Regions from separate parts of the Homo sapiens genome. Here region 1 is linked to region 2. Evidence: promoter capture Hi-C in 16 types of primary human blood cells and fetal thymus (Javierre and others, 2016). All regions are on one chromosome and are shown on one strand. The core of a region is centred on a gene start or on the middle of the fragment in contact, and the rest is flanking DNA. Distances in the headings are between cores, read along the strand shown.

What was found. Contacts are between HindIII fragments. The CHiCAGO score rates a contact against its expected background, and 5 or more counts as called.
Region 1: a fragment that was not itself captured here is called in contact with the fragment with the promoter of ATG10 in region 2 in 10 of 17 cell types (non-activated CD4 T cells, total B cells, total CD4 T cells and 7 more); the score reaches 8.3 in non-activated CD4 T cells.

The regions. Positions count from the first base shown.
Region 1 is chr5:81,516,870-81,523,399 of GRCh38, forward strand. The region is part of intron 4 of SSBP2 (single stranded DNA binding protein 2); the gene reads right to left. Among named protein-coding and RNA genes, the nearest start is that of ACOT12, 130 kb to the left of the region's middle. The HindIII fragment of the contact is 5,147 bases long and covers 2,214-6,530 here.
Region 2 is chr5:81,968,497-81,975,227 of GRCh38, forward strand. ATG10 (autophagy related 10) reads left to right here and starts at 3,527. Exons shown (of 8, transcript NM_031482.5): 1 at 3,527-3,810. RefSeq lists enhancers at 3,060-3,617, 3,618-4,173 and silencers at 3,188-3,517, 3,688-3,927. The HindIII fragment of the contact is 10,147 bases long and covers 1-5,600 here.

The DNA of each region.
Region 1 (6,530 bases), core at 3,537-6,036, 450 kb before region 2:
TGAGACTTCTCTCAAGCTAACTTCCAAAACTCATGAGTCAAATTTATCCATGATCCACAGAAAGTTGTTGTTGGGCCTGAACCATAAAGCATGTATTATTACTCTATGATGTTGTGACAAAAATCACAAAAGGAGAGCAAATAGTTTAATTACAGTTAAGAACTACTAGAAAGCATTAGTTTCACTGAATTTATGTGAATTCCCATTGGAGTAGCATAGAAAATCCTTTATTATATAATATATCCACGACTATTTAGGGTTGAGTTTTCATTATAGCTCTCTCTTAAAAGAGAAAAACATACAAATAATATGGGTTTACAGTATTTCCTCCAACTAAACTGAATATATAAGACTTCAGTGCAGATATAACAATATTATCATTAAAAGTTGTTTTGTTTCTTCTAACAGATCAATTTGCATGCTTTTATCATGCACTGCCAGATAATGTATTTTCTAACTGCTCTTGAAGCATTTACTTAGCCATCTGTCCTAAATTTCAAGTTTTTTTTTTTTTTTTTGGAGAGTGACAACTTTTTTATTTCTTTTTCATTTTCCCAAAATACAAATATAATTTTACTGACTTTTTATAAATCCAATATTTTAAATTTGGTGTTCTCAAATCAATTAAAGTATGGAACAATTATTTGTTTTCTCAAGGAAATATTAAAATGAACTTATAGAGTTACCATGATATCTTTCTTCATGTTCTATGTACTTACATTTTGTTCAGTTTGTGTGGTCATCTTCTCTGGAACTTTTTGAACTTATATCATTCTACCCTCTAAGAAAGCATGAGTCAATATGTTTATGTTATTTATTTCATCATTTCCCATTTCCCCATTTCTCTGAAATGCTATTATGTGACTGATTTTTAAAAATATTTTATTCTAATTCCATATTTTCTGAATTTCAAGAACAGAGAAATATACTCCTATTTTATATTTTTGTCCTGTTAAATAAAAACTTGAAATAAAAGTTAAAAACCTTCTTATTTTTAAATTTAGTTATTATCACTGTTGGTCTCTGGTAGGGAAAAAAAGTTGTATATACTCTGTATGAAAGTTTCAAAGCAACAGGCATTAAATACAAATTTGTTTAAAAATAAAATTAGGATGCAATTTATTACTAAACACAATTAGCATTTATCAAGATTCTACACACTGAATAACAATTTATTTACTAAGAATGCTAGAGAACTGTTTGCCTAATTATACAGTGAAGAATCAAGACAGTCTATATTTGGTAAAATAGGAAAAATAATTTCATGTGTATGAAAAGTATTTTAAGTATATGAAGATAATAATAGAGAAATTAAAATAGTGCTATGATTATTAGAAACTGGAAAGGGGATTAAAGGGAAGGGTGAGTAGGAAGAGGCTGAGCAGGGGATTATAGATTTTCCTTATTTAGCCATCTGTACTCTTTTTAAGATGCTATGGTACGAATGTGTCCCCTCCAAAATTCAGGTGTTGCCAGTGTGATAGTATTAAGAGGCGGGCCCTTTAGGAGGTGAGTAGGTCTTGAGGGTTCCTCCCTTGAGAATGGTATTACACGTCCTTATAAAAGGGCTTGCTTGATGGAAGGAGTTTTTTGTAGCTTTCCCTCTGCCATGTGAGGATGCTGCAAGAAAGCCCTCACCAGACCCAGATGCTGGTGCCTTAATCTTGGACTTTCCTGCCTCCAGAACTATAATAAATAAATTTATGTTCTTTATAAACTACCCAGTCTCGGATATTCTGTTATAGCAGCACAGAATGAACTAAGACATAAGCCATCTGTAGGTACTTTATGAGAAACACTTAAAATAATGATAGTAGGTATCTTATGTTGGCAACTTTAGTGTAAAGCACAGTAAAATATTTTGGCTATTGGTTGAGGACATATTATTTATCATACTAAAAAATCATCCTTTGCCTAGTACTATAAAAAACAATTTTCAAAGAAATCAGGAATAAGAAAATATGCTTTTTGCCTTTTCATTTTTGGAGTAGTATTATTTAGTGTTTCTTTTGGGAAGCATGATATAAGTAATCACATATTGATAGTTTTCTTAAATCTTCATTGTATTTCTGAGATAAGTCATGCTTGATCATCATGCATGATGCATTTAATAGGCTACTGAATTATATTTGGTAATATTTTATGTAGGAGTTTTACATCTCTATTCTCAATGAGATGGGTCTAGAATGTCCTTTGATGTATTATATTTTTCAAGCTTGAGCATCAGGATTATTCTACCTTTTCAAAAGGAATTGATGGCAAATTGTTTTTTATAATGCTCTGAAGAAGTTTCTATAATATGGTATTTATCTACTTATTGAAAGTTAAAAGACACAGCAGTAAAGCAGTAAAACTGCCTTAGACAAAGGCAATGTTGGAAAGAATTATTATCTTTTCATATTTTCTACTTCTCTTTTCTTCAATTTGGTTCATTTACATTTTCTCAGAACACTTCATGTCACTGAAATATTTAGTTTTATCCATATATACACTACTTTTACATAATTTATAAAGGTCCACTGTAGCAGGTGTGAGAGACACTGCTAAGTAGACCACAAAAATATGTTTTTCCTTTCTTCTACCAGCCAGGCACATGGCATCCCAGCTATATTACATTTCTCAGTCCCCTGTGTTCTCACCAAAAATCAGGTTCTTACTGATGGAATATGAGCAGAAGAGACACATGTCACTTCCAGAACATTGGTCTTAAGATCTTGTTTGTAATGCTCCCTCCTTTCTTTCTCCTCCTATTGTCTGGAACACAAATGTTTCAGAGATTTAATTTCTGCCATGCAGACCAAAAAAAAAGGATGCCTTATACAATGGCAGAGCACCTGCTAGTTTCAATCTCTGGATGACTTCGTGGAGCAGAGTCTGCCCGCCTGCCCTGGACTGTCTTTCTGAATTGTAGGCCCCCAGAGATGATGATTTATTTTCTCCCTCTTAAACTGAATTAGCATTCTCATCATCTTTGCCAGGAATTGGTCTATTAATTTACTTTTTTTCTGTTTCATTAACATGTTTACTTCTTTTTAACAAATTATTTGCATTCTCCAGCCTTTTAAAGGTTTTATTTATTTTCAAACATCTTAATTAAATTAGTAGCTATTTTCCCCCCTCTTTTTTTTTTTTTGAGATGGAGTCTCACTCTGTTGCCCAGGCTGGAGTGCAGTGGTGCTGTCTTGGCTCACTGTAACCTCTGCCTCCTAGGTTCAAGTAATTCTCCTGTCTCGGCCTCCCAATTAGCTGGGACTACAGGCACTTGCCACCACGCCCAGCTATTTTTTGTATTTTTAGTAGAGACAGGGTTTCACCATGTTGGCCAGGCTGGTCTCAAACTCCTGACCTCAAGTGATCCACCCACCTTAGCCTCCCAAAGTGCTGGGATTATAGGCGTGAGCCACCACGCCTGGTCTATTTTCCCCTTTTTAAAATGCAAAGAATATAAAACTACAAATTTGGCTCTGAATCTACCCTTGGTTGCATCTGCAAAGTTTGACATTGGTGTTCACAATTTTTTTCTTAAGCCATCTAATGATTATAATTTATTTGCCAGTTATTGAATGCAACTGGCAATGAATATTACAGTAATTCAATGATTTACGAAAAAAATGAGAATACCAATATCAAGTTTGCAGATGTAATAAAAGATATGCTTTAATTCACAAATAGTTGGAGGTTTTATTTTTTAATTTGTTTTTTCTAGTTTTCCAATTGTGGCCAGGTAAGATGTATTATACAATTTTTGTATTTAGAAATTTATTAAACAATTTTTTTTGTGGTCTAATCAATGATTGTTATAATTTCCCATGGATACTTAGTAAATATCCTTATTCTCTGTCTACATTTTAATCTATTGGTTTAATATCTTCATATTGTCTCTAATTTTTGTCCCTTGCTCTTTCAAATATATATACAATGCCCACACTGTTGTCAGTCCATTTCTCCTTGTGCCTCTACCAATGTTTGCCTTACATATTTTAATTCTATGTTCATTAGCACAATGTTTATCTTTACTGTGGATTCTATCCTTTATTAAGTCACTTTCTTTTTCATGTTTAGTAATCACTGCCTTGAATCTATTTTGTCCAAAATTAATATTGCAAGCTCAGCTTTCCTTTTGTGTTTGCATAATAAATCATCTCCCATCCATTTATTTTTAAACTTTATGGCTATATTTTATTTAACTGTTTTACTTGTTAGTAGAAAAGTTTCTAAAATGCATCTAATGAGATGTCCTTTAAAATCAGAAAAAAAACTTTCTTTATCCTATGCTTTAAAGGTATTAAAGTTAAGACAAACAATATTGTTTGCCTTTACCTATGAAAAATGAAGAAGCTAGCTTATTTTTCCTATTCTATATCTCCCTCTTCCATGTCCCAATCCTTATTATAAACATCTGGTGTTTTAGGCATACATTTTTGTTTTTATCATCTCTTCTTCAGTAATAATTTTTGACCTTAACCTTCAATTTTGTAACCATACTCTTAGCATCCAAAATAATGACTTCAACTTTATCTAATTTTTTAATAACATAACTTCACTATGCTTGAGTTTTAATTTTTATACATTTCTTAGTTTAACAGAGAGTAAATGGATATTGTTTTCCAAATCCTTATATATAGGAAAGTGTCTTTGATGACACTCATCAAACTATAGTTAACTACTGTTGTCTAGTATTTAGTGGTACAGAGAAGTCTGATACCACCTTGATTTTTGTTCCTTGGGATATCATCTGTTTTTATCTTCTAAAGATTTGAAGGACATTTTCCTGATACTTTTAATTCTCAGATGTTTCAATTCTATATCTAGGTATTGGTCTCTTTAAATTACTTGCCTGGAATAATGTGAACCTTTCCAATGTTCGTACTTAGTTTCTTTTTTGTTGTAATGTTGGAAAGTTGGGGAAAATCTTTTTAGTTAATAGGTGTAAAGCAAAGATCTGGTAAACCTCACAAGGGTCATTTTTTGCAAATGTTATTAACAACTAGATAAACAGTTGCAATGTTATTGATGACTGGGGAAATATGCTTAAGAATCTTGCCAGAAGGATTTTTACAGTTTATTGGTATCATGGGAAACTAGTACACTTGTAGAAATCACATTACATGTATATATCATGTGCTATAAAAATATTAATAAATTTGACTAAGTGACCCTTCTTTTCCGAAACTATCCAAATATAAATTCTGAACGGTGAGAAAAACAGTATACATAAAATGTGTTCTGTGATATATTTACAGTAAGAAATATTCAAAGTAACCCAAAAATTCATCAGTAATATAATGCGTAAATTGCAGTACATCTAAATTATGGAACATGATTCAACCATTAAAAACAATGCTTACAAATGGCATTATTTGAGAAATGTGGGAACCCGTTGGTGATATAATGCCATGTGAAGCATACCAAATACAGAATTGAGTGTAACATGATTTTAGTTATGCAAATGATAAAAGGTAACGTATAAAAGACTGTAGGTGAATAAATAGTATTAGCTTAGAGTAACGTACCTGAGTGATTTTTTTAAATACAATTTTTATAAACTTTCTGGAATGTCTTATTTCTAACATAAATGAAAATGATTGTTTACTCACACACACACAAACCCAGTTTTGTCAATAGCTAGAAAATATGACCACATATTAAGTTTACTTCAAATAAACCTAATCCCTAAAATTTGTTAAATAAAATGCAGATATTTCTAACTTTAAAATAATTCATTTCAATAAAATAAGATTTGAAGCATTTTAATTTTCAGACTATGAAGAACAAGTTTTTCTATTTTGGAAAGTTAGGTACTAGAAATAACCTAGAAATCATTTACATTATTCCTGGGCATTTGTTTGCACAGGGACACAAATTTATTTTTAGCACCACGTACTCTACCCTGGGCCACCTCACTTAGTCACCCACTCACAGTCTGGAGAACCAGTATCATTCACTGTGCTACTTTTTTTGGTCTGTTTTTCAATCACAAAAATATTTTACATGTTATTTTCACAAAGAATCCACAGAATAGTATTCAATCCTTTAGGCTTCCAAAAGAGCAAGAGAGAGACCCAGAAATAACATCAAAAACAAAATCAAATAAACAAAACCAAAATATTCCACAAAGAAGTAGATCCTTAGCATCTAAAAACAGATAAAGGGCCAAAGAGTTGGTGATCTAAATATTGTAGCTGGTATTTGCCATGCAAATGAAAATAAGAGTGCTGTGACTGGCTGGTGATTTCTACAAAAGGCGAACTTTTCATATGGAAGCCATGAAACATGGGAAGTCTGATAGGTAACAAGGGAGAAGCAACCACTCTTGCCAAATAAATGTTTTATGTGCAAGAGAAGTGCAAAAGGACTCTGATAAAAACAATTAAAATTTCATTAAAAGTATTAAAATACTTTAGGAGGTGGCCTTTGATTTTTCACTGTTAATTTTCAGAATAAGCAGCCATGTTTAATGGTGCAGAAACTGAGCTTCTTGCATTCTGTATTTAGCTTAACCAGAAAAGGTAGATAACAAGAAAGAGTGT
Region 2 (6,731 bases), core at 2,277-4,776:
AAAATGCCCTATTCTCCATGTATTCATCTCTTCCCTCTTTGCCTCCCTTCCCCCAAACTCTTGCAACTACTGATCTTTTACTGTCTCTATAGTTTTGCCTACTAGTGTTTTTTTCTCTCACACTTTTAAGTAAGTGCTATGCACACACAGCTTCAAGACAAGTTTCTTATCTCTGCCATCCAATCAGATTACCTCCTCTAACTCTTTTATATAATTTATCTTTTCCTAAGAACCTCCTGGAGGGTGGTGGAAGAGATCTGCCTACTATAAGCTGCAGTAGAGATAGCTTTTGTTCCCTAGTATCTATTCTTCTCTTCTTTCTTTTAATAATAAAACAATCCCACCCTGTCAAGGTTTGACTGAGCCCATGGCTAGATGCTACATTTTCTTCCTTCCTTGAATATAGATGTGACCTATGGGATATGAGCAGAAAGGATATATGCATGCAAGTAATAAGAACTGACAAAATTGAGAAAATAAGACATTTACCATGGAACTTTAAATTTGTATCCCTTTATAGGACCATACTATTGAAAGGATATTATGAATTATATTTTAAAATAAATCCTGTAATTATATTTTGAAAGACACATTTATACTGCTTTGTAATTTTTGGTAATAAAAGTGTTTATTGGTTAAAGGAAAATGACTTTGAATGTAATGCAGTTTGTATAACCCTGTTTTGAATTAAAAAAAATTTACATGAGTATCAGAAAACTAAAACAAAAAACAAAAAAGCTGAAGTTTCAAGTTTTAGAAGACTCTGTGTGAAACATGAGCATTAAAGTATAATGGACAAACAAAAGCCTAAAACAATGAGAAAAAAGAATGGCCGCATCTGTAATCCCATCTGTAATCCCAGCACTTTGGGAGGCTGAGGTGGGAGGATTGCTTGAGGCCAGGAATTCCAGGTTACAGTAAGTTATGACCAGGCCATTGCATTCCAGCCTGGGTGAAAGAGCGGGAGACTTTGTCTTTAAAAAAAAGAATGGCCACAGAGCTGGAAGGAGAATCAGGGGACTGGGTTTTACGTAAGTGAAAGGAAGCAAGACTTTTTAGAAGTGAGCAACATGTCCAAATGAAACAGAGAAATCTAATAAAATAAGTATTAAAAGAATTTAATAATTAAGATATTATAAAATGGGTATGTCATGAAGTTATGAGATTAACTATGTACATATAAATCTTCTGGAATATAATAGGCGTTCAATAAATTTTGTGATCAATTCCTTGTTTTATTCAAAGAATACTTACTACTAGTTAGGAATATTGGGACTAGAAAATAATACCCCACAATGAAACTCTCAGAAGCAGCCTCAGAAGCAAAAGTTTTTCTCTGACCTTCTCCTGCCTTCCTGTCTCTTGGTCCCATTCTCCCCTGACACTAGCCATAGAAACTAGGCAGGCCATAGAAACTAGAACCTCTTTTCCCCAAAGCCAGTCATAAATCCTGGAAATATTACTTTAATTTTCTCCCGCCTTTCTTTGTAAAAACTGGCCATAAAGAAATTATCTGATCTACCTTTTTTGACTGTAGGTCCTAAGACCCTCATTGCAGAGAGGGTCCCGCCCTACACCCAGAAGGAAGGAATGCATGCCCAGAGAGTCCAAGAAGAATCTAGACAGACAGGCCTTGCTGGGTTTCCCCACTCAGGCTATTAGCATTAGAGCATACCCTTTTGTCCAATCATATTTCTACATGGCTGTCCATACTTTGTTGGATGTACAAATGAACATTACAATTTCCCCTGTATCTTTGGGTCTTCATTCTGAAGGTTCTCATGTATATATGCTAAATAAACTTGCATGCATTTCCTCCAATTACTCTGTCCTTTGTGAGTAGATTTTTCGGTGAACCTCAGCGATCAGAGAGGAGAGCTACAGGAGCCCTGCTTGAACCTTGAAATGCTATGATGACAGACCGTAGCCTTAAAGCAGTTTATAGTGTTGTAGGGTAAACACATAAACAGGCCAATATCATTCTTTGCCATGAGGGATATGATGAGAGGAAGTACATGGAGGTTAACTGAGTTATTTCTTTTAGTTTCTTTGTTTTTGGCATGTGAATTATGAAACTTTAAAACACCTCCAGTGCAAAAAAAATTTTTTTTAAATTAACATGGTGGTTGGTGCACTGTGTTTCTAAAATATGGAGTACAATGTAAAGCAATGCATTCTTTTTTTAAAAATTTATTGTTATTTTGAAAAATTTTTGTAGAGATGAGGTCTCACTGCCTTGCCCATAGCTGGTCTTGAACTCCTGGGCTAAAGCGATCCTCCTACCTCGGGCTCCCAAAGTGCTGGGATTACAGGCGTGAGCCACTGCGCCCAGCCGCATTCTTGTTTTCATCTGTGAAATACGTTTTTAAGGTAAATACTTAAAGTTGATGGAGACACCTGGTCTACTTAAGCTCTCATTCAGAACACACTGCCTTGTGCTTTTAAAAAAATTAAATGGATAATCTAAATTGGCAGCTACCAATTAATTTATATCCATAGTTGCTAAAAAATGTTAGTGTAAGTTCATTTTTATTAGTCGCATCATTTTGAGTTTTAAACTATTTCACATGCAGTAAAATTTATACCTCTTATGGGTTTTGTCAAACAGTGGTTTAGTCACCAACACAATCACGGTATAGAAGCTCTCAAGCTCCTTTTCAGTCACCCCCTTCCTCCAGCCCTTTGCCCTGGTCGCCACTGATCAGTATTCTCTCCTTTTAAAAACACTTATTATTTGGAAATAATTATAGACACAGGAAATTGCAAAAATACTACAGCACCTAGAGTCCCGTGTACCTATCACCTAGTTTCCTCCAATGGTGACATCTTACACAACTGTAGTACAAGATCAAAAAACTATGTCATGTAGTTTGAAGGCAGGTTTTCCTTTCACTTCTTCGCCTGCATTTTCTCCTTTCATTTCCAACAAATTTAACTCTGTTGTTAGAAGGAGCAGATGCTAGTTTTCTTTCAGATGTCTGCTATTTCAGTTCGATTACCCCTGTTACTCCTACATTTTTTCTAGTCTTTATCCCCATCGTTTCGCCCCAATTTAATTTTGCTGCTAGTTTTTTTTTTTTCTCCTCTGGGATATGTGCCACAGATGGTACTATTGTCAATATTCGAATTCCTAACTTCTCCCTCCATCCGTAAGTTTTCAAGGGGTAGCCGTGCTTGTGCTTAATTGTGGTGTTTACAGGACTTTTTGTAGCGTAAGCATGCTGGCATGGTTCCCCAACCTCTTAGGGGGATGCTAGTAACCCGCTCCCCCGTCAACGAGCCGCCTTTGTGCTCCGCGGAGGGCACCGCCTGCGTTGGGTTGGAGGTGGGGGTTGGCGGGGGAGAGCTGCCCGCCAGGCGAGGGGCGGGGCCTTGGCGGGGGTGGTCGCGGGCGGCGGGGAGGTCTCGCTTCCCTCCTCTCCACCCGCTCCCAGTCCCGGCCTGGGTCTCAGCCCCGCCCTGCCCAGAGCGCGCGGCCGATCACGTCACCGGCCTGCGCTAGGCGGCCCCCACGGCGCGGGAAGGCGCAGTGCGCACGCTCCGACTCGGCCGTGGCGGACCTGACTGAAGGAGGCCGCGGACCTGACTGAAGGAGGCCACGGCCACTTCTGGTTGGCCTCGGGGCGCGCTGGCTCGGCTCTTCCTCCGCCCTCGAGGCCCCCGCAGTCCCATCATTCAGTTCCGTAGGGTCACCGGCGCGGCAGTGGCCTCGCAGGGCGCTGGGTCCCTCTCCCCAGCTCTCCTCCCCCTGGCCCCGTCGCCCCGCCCTCGCCGGGCTGGGCTGCGGGGTCAGGGGCCGAGCGGAGAGGGGTGAGTATTCCCCACAGCCCTTGCCGGTTGTCTCCTCCCGGCTCTGCTTCCCACACGGTCCTTGCCCCACTCCTAGGACAGGGAGGAAGGGCACGCGCGGGTAGGCGGGAAACAGCCCAGTCCTGAACAAAAGGCCGGGGAAGCGGGTCCCCGCCGGTAACTGCAGGCCTGTGCTGGCCGCCGCGAGCGGGGAAGGGCGAGGACACTCCCTCCTCGGGGACCCGGTCCCCGTCGCGCACACGGTGTCACCAGCACACCTGGCCCAGTACCCAAAGCACCCTCGAAGTGGGTAGTAACTACTTTGTGTTTAAAATCCACATACTGATAGCAAATCTTTGGTTGAAACAGTATTAAATTACTGGGGCTTCCAGTGGCTGAGTCCAACTTAATTTGAAGTTTCAGATTAAGTATCAGGAGGAATAACTTGATATTTAGAGCCAACAGGTCTTTCTTTTTTTTTTAAACCTCCCAAAAAACCTATAAAATCAAGAATTGGCGGGGAGGACCGGAGAATGATAAAGGAATAGTTGACTGATTTATAGAAACTTTTAGTGGCGGTAAAAATTACAAAAGTATTGGAAATAAGGCAAAAGGACAGCATGTTTTTTTCAGAGTCAAAATGGAGCCTAACAGGCCCACCTGAAGATGATTTAGATGTCTAGGGGACTATATTTTGTTTGGCATGATGATATTGATTAGGGCCTAGGCTTTGTAGTTAACATCTTTTTCATTAATGGAGATGCAAATTATTTCTGAGTGGGAGAGAAAAAAATACAGTACTCCTAAAGGTTGTAGTTTTAGTGCCTTGTAGGATATTAGCCATTTTTCTTTTCTTTTTTTTGAGACAGAGTCTTGCTCTGTCGCCCAGGCTGGAGTGCAGTGGCACGATCTCGGCTCACTGCAACCTCTGCCTCTCGGGTTAAAGCAATTCTCCTGCCTCAGCCTCCCGAGTTGCTGGGACTACAGGTGCCCGCCACCACGCTCAGCTAATTTTTGTAAGTTTAGTAGAGACGGGGTTTCACCATATTGGCCAGGCTGGTCCGGAACTCCTGATTTTGTGATCCGCCTGCCTCGGCCTCCCAAAGTACTGGGATCACAGGCGTCAGCCACCGCGCCCGGCCAATATTAACCATTTTTCTGTCTAACCTATCAAACTTACCATCCTTTCTTCAGTGTTTATGCTCAGTTCCTGAAATGCTTTTGAGCACACTAAGCCATTCAGCTTGTTCCATTGTGAGTTTAATAAATCTTTGTCACAGGTTCATTTTGAGTCATATTTATAACTTTTGTTATTGGACAATGGTCTCTATTCTTTAGTGGCAAAAACAAGTTTATGCTTCTCAGGATGGAAGGACATAGGCCCTGTGTGGTACTCAAATACATCTTAGGACTCCAAGTAGAATCCTTTCTCATTGCTTCAGAAAGGTTAAACAGTGACCAGAGGAAATGTTACAGAACTTTGACCAAAAAATAAATCCTGAGTATTGAGAAATTAAAATTAAAGTCTTGCAAATTGCAGAGTTTAAAAATTGTTATTGATATTTTAAATTGAAGAAATTAGTGGAAATAGTAGTTCTAAATTGCATACATTTGAATGTGGAGTGTTAAAAGATTATTTCCCTTGTCTCCTGTTTTATTTAGGATAAGGTTAACTGAGATTTTGGTACATGGTGGGCCATTCAAGTTATGTATAATGTTTTGTGACAAACTACATGTCGACAGTAGTTCCTGATGCCTAATACATTTCTGAGAAAGGTAAAGCAGCCCTTTAGGAAAAACAAGGAGAGTAAAGCTTACAGAAGATTTCTTAAGATGGGCTTGATTTGATTATCTTTGAAACCTAGAGATGTGTTTGGGACCCAGGAGGTTGTGTTTGAATCATAAATATAATCAGGGAACCTTAAGAAAAAAAAAGCCATGGAGATCATTTGGTGATTATCTATTGAAAACAAATGTTTTCAGGGGACAAGCAGCCTGAGTATAATAAAGCAATTAGAAAGTTGGGGAATGGAGAATAGGAGAATAAGCTGTACCTGAAGGAATCTTAATTAGGGAATGGTTGCTGAAAACTGCAGAGACAAGACTTCTCTAATGTGCTTACCTGATCACATAGTTTTATAGGATCCAGGAAGAGGGCTTAGTAATAGGAGTGTAGCTTTGAAGCTAGGGTTATTTCATATCACTGTCATGTAACATCTTTCTGAGAAAACCTTTTTATCATCTCTTCTGAGCTCAAGAACCTACACTGGTTTCCTATTGCCAATTGTTTTAAATGGAATCTCCTTTGGGTTTTTTGGTTTCTTCTTTTGGTTTTTTAAGAAGTGGGGTCTCTAAGTTGCCCAGGCTGGAGTGCAGTGGCTATTTAGAGGCACAATTAGAAGGCACTACACAGCCGTGACTCCTGGCTCAAGCAGCCCTCCTGCCTCAGCCTCCTGAGTAGTGAGGACTAAAGGCGAGAGCTATGTCTCCAAGCTTCCTTTGAGTTTTAAGACTGTAAACTTCCTGCACCCTGTCCCCAGATTCTCAATATCCCTCAATCTATACTCTCCATTCAGGTTCTTTACTGGTCTACCTCATTTCAATCTGTTCCAAGGTTCACTGCCACTGCCCCATCCCTTCTATTTCTTTCTTTCTATATCCTCCTATAATTCAAGGATTAACTGAAATCTAACTACTGTAGGGCCCAGGCTCTGGTTCCAGACTTCCTTAGGTCAAATTACTACACTTAACAGCTGTGTTACCTTGGACAAGTTACCCTCTCTGTCTCAATTTCCTTATCTATAAAATAAAGAAAATCCTAGTAATTTACCTCAAAAAGTTGCTCTGAGGATTTGTTACTAGTTCTTAATACATAGTAATATATGCAATTTTAATTATTTTAATCCATACTAATTCTTTAAACAGTGGTTGTACAATTTATC